2 separate regions of the Homo sapiens genome follow, and region 1 is linked to region 2. Evidence: promoter capture Hi-C in 16 types of primary human blood cells and fetal thymus (Javierre and others, 2016). All regions are on one chromosome and are shown on one strand. Each heading gives the region's core, a stretch centred on a gene start or on the middle of the fragment in contact. The rest is flanking DNA. Distances are from core to core; before and after follow the strand shown. Region 1 overlaps CDC37 (cell division cycle 37, HSP90 cochaperone). Region 2 holds the start of SHFL (shiftless antiviral inhibitor of ribosomal frameshifting).

Region 1 (4,262 bases), core at 1,645-4,144, 300 kb after region 2:
GCAGCCCCAAATGGGACACTCGGTGCTGGCCTGAGAGGATACAGAGGAGTAACTTACACACATGAAGGCTGGCACCAGACGGGCTGAGTTCAAGCCCCAGCTCCATCACTGTGTGATCCTGGGCGGCCCCTTAACCCCACTGTGCCTCAGTTTCCTCCTCTGCAAGATGTGACTATTTAGTCCCAAACCCAGAGGCATGTCAGGGACATCAAATGAGTTAATACACTTCATTAGCCAGGTGTGGTGGTGCATGCCTGTACAGGAGGCTGAGGCAGGAGAATCGCTTGAACCTGGGAGATGGAGGTTGCAGTGAGCCGAGATCGTGCCACTGCATTTAAGCTTGGGCAACAGAGCAAGACTCGGTCTCAAAAAAAAAATAAATAAAAGGACTGGTGGTGGATAGCCAGATGCAGTGTGTGTCTCTTGGCTGTAATTTGAGCTACTCAGGAGGTTGAGGCAGGAGAATCACTTGAGCCCAGAGGTTAGAGGCTGCAGTGAGCTATGATTGTGCCACTGCACTCCAGCCTGGGTGACAGAGCCAGATCCCATCTCTTAAAAAAAAAAAAGGGGGGGGCCACACATGGTGGCTCATGTGTGTAATCCCAGCACTTCGGAAGGCCAAGGCGGGCAGTCCTCTTGAGGTCAGGAGTTTGAGACCAACCTGGCCAACATAGTGAAACCCTGTGTCTACAAAAAATACAAAAATTAGGCCGGGTGCGGTAGCTCACGCCTGTAATCCCAGTACTTTGGGAGGCTGAGGCAGGTGGATCATGAGGTCAGGAAATCAAACCCATCCTGGCTAACACAGCGAAACCCCGTCTCTACTAAAAATACATAAAAATTAGCCGGGCGTGGTGCCAGACGCCTGTAGTCCCAGCTACTCAGGAGGCTGAGGCAGGAGAATGGCGTGAGCTCGGGAGGCAGAGCTTGCAGTGAGCTGAGATCAGGCCACTGCACTCCAGCCTGGGCGACAGAGCAAGACTCCATCTCACAAAAAAAAAAAAAAAAAAAAAAAAAAAGGGCCGGGCACAGTGGCTCACACCTGTAATCCCAGCACTTTGGGAGGCCGAGGAGGGCAGATCACGAGATCAGGAGATCGAGACCACGGTGAAACCCCGTGTCTACTAAAAATACAAAAAATTAGCCGGGTGTGGTGGCGGGCGCCTGTAGTCCCAGCTACTCGGGAGGCTGAGGCAGGAGAATGGCGTGAACCCCGGAGGTGGAGCTTGCAGTGAGCCGAGATCATGCCACTGCACTCCAGCCTGGGCGACAGAGTGAGACTCTGTCTCAAAAAAAAAAAAAAAAAAAAGCCAGGTGTGGTGGAGTGCGCCTGTAATCCCAGCTACTTGGGAGGCTGAGGAGGGAGAATCCCTTGAAACTGGGAGGCAGAGGTTGCAGTGAGCCCGAGATCATGCGACTGCACTCCAGCCTGGGCGACAGAGTGAGACTCAGTCTCACAAAATACAAACAAAATCTTCAATAACAAGGAATGCAGTATTTTGAAAAACTGAAATTAACACCAAAATGTGTATGATGAACAAAAATTATTATTATTATTATTATTTTTGAGACGGAGTCTCACTCTGTTGTCCAGGCTGGAGTGCAGTGGCGCGATCTTGGCTCACTGCAACCTCTGCCTCCCGGGTTCAAGCGATTCTCCTGCCTCAGCTTCCCGAGTAGCTGGGATTACAGGCACGTGCCACCACGCCTGGCTAAGTTTTGTATTTTTTGTACAGACGGGGTTCCACCATGTTGGTCAGGCTGGTCGCGGACTCCTGACCTTGTGACCCGCCCTCCTCGGCCTCCCAAAGTGCTGGGATTACAGGCGTAAGCCACCGCGCCCCGCTCAAAAATTAAAATTTTTACTCGGCAGGGCACACTGGCCTGTAGTCCCAACACTTTGGGAAGCTGAGGCGAGCAGACTGCTTCAGCTCTGTTCAAATCCAGCCTGAACAACATGGAGAGAACCCTGTCTCTGAAAAATAAATAAATAAAAAGATCTTGGAAGGTGTCTGAGGCTCAATCAGGGTTCCAGGAGTCCCCCTGCAGCTCCTACCTGTCGTTCTCACTCATACAAAACACTAAGGAAAGTTACTAGATTTGCAGCTCACTCCTGCCCCCTGGTGGTGATCGGCTTGGGCACAACAGCATTCCAGGGGTTTTTATCCAATGCTTTTGCAAATGTTTCCTGAAGGTCCCCTTTCTGGCACTGTGTATGTTGCAAGAAAAAGTCCGTGCTCTGGTGGCACCCACAGTACATGGGAGGTGACAATACACAGGTCTGTGTGAAGAAAGGCATGTGAGGCAGGTTTGGTGGCTGAGCATGAGGGGAATTAAAGTAGGTCAAGGAGGGCCTCAGAGAAGTGGCATTGATCTGTGGTCTGAGTGACAAGCAGTCCCCTCAGAGATGATGTCCCCCAGGAGAGGTAGGCATAAGTCTACTGGATCGGAGGTATTTCATGTCTTAAACTGATGTGAACCTGGGTATTTATTGTACTTTGATCTTAGCTCACTGCAGCCTTGACCTCCCGGGCTCAAGCAATCCTCCTGCCTTAGCCTCCCAAGTATCTGTAACTACAGGTGCGCCCCACTGCGCCCAGCACTGTTTTTTTTTTTTGTTGTTGTTGTTGTTTTTGAGATAAGTCTTTGTCACCCAGGTTGGAGCGCAGTGGCGTGATCCTGGCTCACTGCAACCTCCACCTCTCAGGTTCAAGCAGTTCTCCTGCCTCAGCTTCCTGAGTAGCTGGGACTACAGGCACGTGCCACCATACCTGGCTAATTTTTGTGTTTTTAGTGCAGACTGGGTTTCACCATGTTAGCCAGGCTGGTCTTGAACTCCTGGGCTCAAGTGATCCTCCTGCCTCAGTCTCCCAAAGTGTTGGGATTACAGGTGTGAGCCACGCCTGGCCGTGCACTCTTCTTTAAGACTTTTCCTGTGGCAGAAATATTTTGTGACTTTTGAAGACGGCCAGCAAGTGCCAAGGTCCCCGTTCAGAGAATCTGAGTGCCAGGTGCCAGTTGTCTGAACCATTACCTCACTTGTCCCCCTCACTACGGCCTGAGGAGGGCACTAGCGCGACGACGTTAGCCCTAAGAGCAGGGACACTGAGGCTCAGCGCATCACCCAAAGCCACACGAAGAGAAATTTCAAGTGCTCAAGGGCCAGCATGGAGTTGGGGACAACAGGGCAGCGAGGCAACAGGCAGATGGTGCTGGGGGCCTGGTCAGTTGCAGGGAGGACTTCGGCTTCTGCTCCCAGGGAGGGGAGTCCTGCGAGGCTTTTGAGCAGAGGTGGGACATGCCCTGACCTGGGTGTTCACAGGTACCCTCTGGCTGCTGCCTGTTCAGGGGCTGACTTGTAGTGGGGAATGAGGAGGAGGCTGGGGCAGGAATTAGAGCCAGAGGCGATGGGGACCTGAAGGCCATAGGGACAAAAGGCAGTGGTCAGAATCAAGAATGTTTGGGGGGGTGGGGCCAAGTGCAGCGGCTCACACCTGTAATCCCAGCACTTTGGGAGGCCAAAGTGGGAGGATCACCTGAGGTCAGGAGTTCAAGACTAGTGTGGCCAATATGGTGAAACCCCATGTCTACTAAAAACACAAAAAATTAGCCGAGTGTGGTGGCGGGTGCCTATAATCCCAGCAGGAGGCTGAGGCAGGAGAATCACTTGAACCTGGGAGGTGGAGGTTGTAGTGATCCGAGATTCCACCACCGCACTCCAGCCTGGGTGATAGCTGGACTCTCAAAAAAAAAAAAAAAAAAAAATCTGTTTGGGGGCAGCGCTGGCCATAGGGTGGGGAGATATAGTCCATCCAGGATGCTGCTCCAAAAGGTTGTAGGAAGCTGGAAAGGTGTGGGGTGCGGGCAGGTGCGCCAGATCCACAAAACCCTAGGGAATGTGACTTGGTTTGCAGATCACTACTGCCCTCTGGTGGTGATCAGCTTGGGCCACCCTGCATTCTGGAGGTCCAAGTAGGGACAAGGGAGTGGGTGGGTGAGACTGAAGGTTGGGGGCTTTTGAGGCCTCTGGAAGAAGACTGTTCCAAGTTGTGGAACAGCATGTGTGAGGCGAGGACCCACGATGGCTGGTGGGCAAAGGACCAGAGAAGCACAGCTCAGCCCCCAATATCCCACCAAGTTTCCCTCCCACCTACAAGAGATGGGCTGCCTGAACGGCCCTCCCAGCAGCCCAGAGAGCATCTGAAATCTTTTATTGGAAGATCATTGCTGTTTGCCAAATAGAAGACACAGACAGCAGACGA
Region 2 (3,871 bases), core at 76-2,575:
TGAGGCAGGAGGATCGTTTGAGCCCAGGAGTTAGAGGCTGCAGTGAGCCACCATCAAACCACTGCACTCCAGCCTGGGCAACAGAGCAAGATCTTGTCTCAAAAAATAAATAAATGAATAAATATCCATCTGGGGGTGTAACTTTAACACTTTTACCTATAGGGGTGTGCAATGGAGAAAAAAATTTGGAGTCGTTGAACACAATGCTATTTTGCTCCTCAGAGAGTATCCGGCAGTCTCTGGAGACGTTTTTGGTAGTCACAACAGGGAGAGTAGGGAACCACTGGCATCTAGTGGGTGGAGGCCAGGGATGGTGTTAAATGTCCCCCAATACACAGGACAGTCCCCCACACAAAGAACTAGGCCGCCCAAAGTGTCAAGAGTGCTGGGCTTGAGAAGCCATTGCCCAAAAACCCCAGACTTAGTCTTGCTTTGGGGGCTCTGCACGGCTGCCTCATCTCCCCACTCTATTCCTCCCCTAGCTAAGACCTCCAATTTCAGTGACTCTACAAAGCATCCCCTCCTCCAATGAAGTTGCCATCTCTGTGTCCCCAGGCTGGGCCAGAGCCCCACCACCTAAGGGCTCCCTGATGTGCCCTGTACTGGGTTAGAATTGTCCGTCCCACGGGGTTCTTAACCATTGCAGATTCCCTGGATCCCTGAGACAGCCGGATTCTACCGGGCTACTAGAGACCAAGAATCTGTATTTTTCTCAAGCACCGCTCCCCCCAACCACACACACACTGCCTGCCCCTATCAAGGGCACACAGCAGGTGGCCCAGTGACTAGTTGAACGCCTACTGCAAGCCAGGCGCTATTACGCGATCCACTCGGGAATCTTGGCACATACTCCACTCCATGGTGTAGACACCAGGATTCTCCCCATTTCACAGAGGGGTAAACTGAGGTTGAGAGAGGTGACCGTAGCTAGGACAGAGACTCAGGGCAGGAAAAGGGCCCAGGTCCTCATGAGCGCCAGATTCCCGGGGAAGGAGGGAGAACAGAGAGGAGGGTGATGAACTGGGGGAGCGCGCGCTGGGTGGGGGGGCGCGGGGCCTCGCCGCGGCCTTCTGATGCGGCCCCGCCCCCACGAGGGACGTGAAGACGCGGACCCCGCGCAGCGTGGGGACATGTGACCGACTGCAGAGGCCGCGCCGCCTCCCCCGTCCGAGGTCTGCGCGCTCCGCCGCAGGGTGCAGACCCGGGGCGCCCGCCTGGGTTTGGGGCGCAAGAGCAGAGGCGGAGCCAGGGCGGAGCCAGCGCGCCGGGTCCCCCCTGAATCGAAAGCGAAACAGGGGCCGGGGAGGAAGGGCGGAGCCGGCCCCGAGGCACCGCCCCCTGCCCTGCGCGGCTGCTGGACCGACGGGCGCACCCAGGTAGGGGGGCGGCTGAGCCGCGCAGTGCGGACCCTCGCGGGGAACTGCGCCGCCGCCACCATGTCTCAGGAAGGTGTGGAGGTAAGCGATGGCTACGGCTGGGCCGGGGTCAGCCGCGACAGACCCCGAGGAGCGGCCGGGAGGCGCGGAGGGGGCTTCGCAGTTCCTGGGGACCCCCATCCTAGAACCCCAGATCCTTACCCCTGCCTGGCGCTCGCCCCCCTTGAAAAGGAAAGTGACTCCCACGTTTCCCCAGAGCGAAATGAGGCCTCCCCGAGGAAAAGCGGGGGCTGCAGGGTCAAAGGTCAGAGGCCAGAGATAACCTGGCCGCCCCCCCACACCTTAGGCTGGGACGCTCGCCCCAGTCCGCGCCTTCCCCCAACGCCCTGTGGGGACTTTGGCTTTTTCCAGGAAATGCCGTAAAGGGATGAAAGGCGGGGGGGGGGCGGCGGAGGCCAAAACCAAGGGTCAAGTTCGGGCCGGGAGAACGGTGCCTAGAGATGGGGGAGGGATGATCCCGTTTCCCCTTCCCCCACCGGAACCCCCCTGTCTCCATCCCAGCTGGAGAAGAGCGTCCGGCGCCTCCGGGAGAAGTTTCATGGGAAGGTATCCTCCAAGAAGGCGGGGGCTCTGATGAGGAAATTCGGCAGCGACCACACGGGAGTGGGGCGCTCCATCGTGTACGGTGAGGCTGCAGGGGTCCCGGGCCTGGTGCGGGGACCGCGCGTGGGAGCGCCGAGGGGGCGTGGTCTAGGGAGAGGCGTTGAGATCACCTCCCCCGGAGGTCCCAGCCTTGGGGAGGCTCTGCGTCGCGGCTCTGGGTGGCCTGGAACTCCCACAGACCCTTCAAGGGCCCTTCCCTTATATGCACTCTCCCCCGCAGGGGTAAAGCAAAAAGATGGCCAAGAACTAAGTAACGATCTGGATGCCCAGGTAACCTATCCCCTCCCCTCGCAAAGGACCGGGTCACGGGAGGGAGAGCAAGAGGGGGGACCCGACCCGTTCATGGTGACTGACCCCCCTCTGAAACAGGAGGGACCAGGCATTGTCGGTCCATAACTCATCACCCAATCTCACTTTTTCACCTCTCCATCATTTGTCCGGCCAGGGAGCCTGCAAACAGTAGGCGCTCATTATGTGCTGATTGTATTCAATGGGGGAGAGAGCCATGAAACTAAGCAATGAAAGGAGCCAGGATTATTGCCATCATAGCGGGGGCGCAGAGGTCAGAGAAGGCTTACTGGAGGAGGAGGTACCAAGTCTTAAAGGATGGGGAGGAGTGAGCCCTGGGAGGGGAAAGGGAAAGAAAGGCAGGGGTCTTGGGGTGGGGGAGGGAATGGCATAAGCAAAGGCTGGGAGGTGGGGAAGGGTTGTTAGTGGCAGTCTCTAGAAAGGCTAGGATGAGCAGAGGATTGGGGAGGAGAGAGAGGCAGGGGAATGGAACCCTTGTGTTGAATGAATGAATGAATGAATGAATGAATGAATGAATGAATGGCTTTGAAGCACAGGTGCATCATGGCTACTTTGCTTCTTTGACAGCTTTGGTGATGGGAACGCTGTGGATTTAGCCTGCCTGAAAGGCTTAGTGTAGGGCTGTTAAAGAGTATAATAGGCCAGGCGCGGTGGCTCACGCCTGCAATCCCAACATTTTGGGAGGCCGAGGCGGGCGGATCACCTGAGGTCGGGAGTTTGAGACCAGCCTGACCAACATGGAGAAACCCGTCTCTACTAAAAAATACAAAATTAGCTGGGCATGGTGGCGCATGCCTGTAATCCCAGCTACTCGGGAGGCTGAGGCAGGAGAATCACTTGAACCCAGGAGGCGGAGGTTGCAGTGAGCTGAGATCACACCATTGCACTCCAGCCTGGGCAACAAGAGCGAAACTCTGTCTCAAAAAAAAAAAAAAAAAAAAAATGCCGGGCGCGGTGGCTCACGCCTGTAATCCCAGCACTTTGGGAGGCCAAGGCGGGCGGATCATGAGGTCAGGAGATCGAGACCATCCTGGCTAACATGGTGAAACCCCATCTATACTAAAAATACGAAAAAAAAAATTAGCCAGTTGTGCTGGCAGGCCCCTGTAGTCCCAGCTACTCAGGAGGCTGAGGCAGGAGAATGGCGTGAACCCGGGAGGCGGAGCTTGCAGTGAGCCGAGATCGCACCACTGCACTCCAGCCTGGGCAACAGAGCGATTCTCCGTCTCAAACAAACAAAAACAAACAAAACCAGAGTATAACAAAACATGTATCATAGTCTACATTTATACATATAAAAGTATGATAAAAATGATAGCAGAGGGGCCAGGTGTGGTGGCTCACGCCTGTAATTCCAGCACTTTGGGAGGTTGAGGCGGGCAGATCACTTGAGGTCAGGAGTTCGAGATTAGCCTGGCCAACACGGTGAAACCCCTTCTCTATTAAAAATACAAAAAATTAGCTGGGCGTGGCAGTGCATGCTTGTAATCCCAGCTACTTGGCAGGCTAAGGCAGAAGAATCA

The links. The method cuts DNA at HindIII sites, captures the fragments that hold promoters and counts their contacts. A CHiCAGO score of 5 or more calls a contact.
Region 1: a contact is called between a fragment that was not itself captured here and the fragment with the promoter of SHFL in region 2, in 1 of 17 cell types (neutrophils). The highest score is 6.2, in neutrophils.

The regions. Positions count from the first base shown.
Region 1 is chr19:10,386,939-10,391,200 of GRCh38, forward strand. CDC37 (cell division cycle 37, HSP90 cochaperone) reads right to left here. Exons shown (of 8, transcript NM_007065.4): 8 at 4,195-4,262. Among named protein-coding and RNA genes, the nearest start is that of TYK2, 8.5 kb to the left of the region's middle. RefSeq lists enhancers at 1,817-2,317, 1,897-1,956. The HindIII fragment of the contact is 5,115 bases long and covers 338-4,262 here.
Region 2 is chr19:10,084,992-10,088,862 of GRCh38, forward strand. SHFL (shiftless antiviral inhibitor of ribosomal frameshifting) reads left to right here and starts at 1,326. Exons shown (of 8, transcript NM_018381.4): 1 at 1,326-1,457; 2 at 1,938-2,061; 3 at 2,260-2,309. The coding sequence starts at 1,437. RefSeq lists silencers at 1,025-1,244, 1,315-1,594. The HindIII fragment of the contact is 8,670 bases long and covers 1-3,871 here.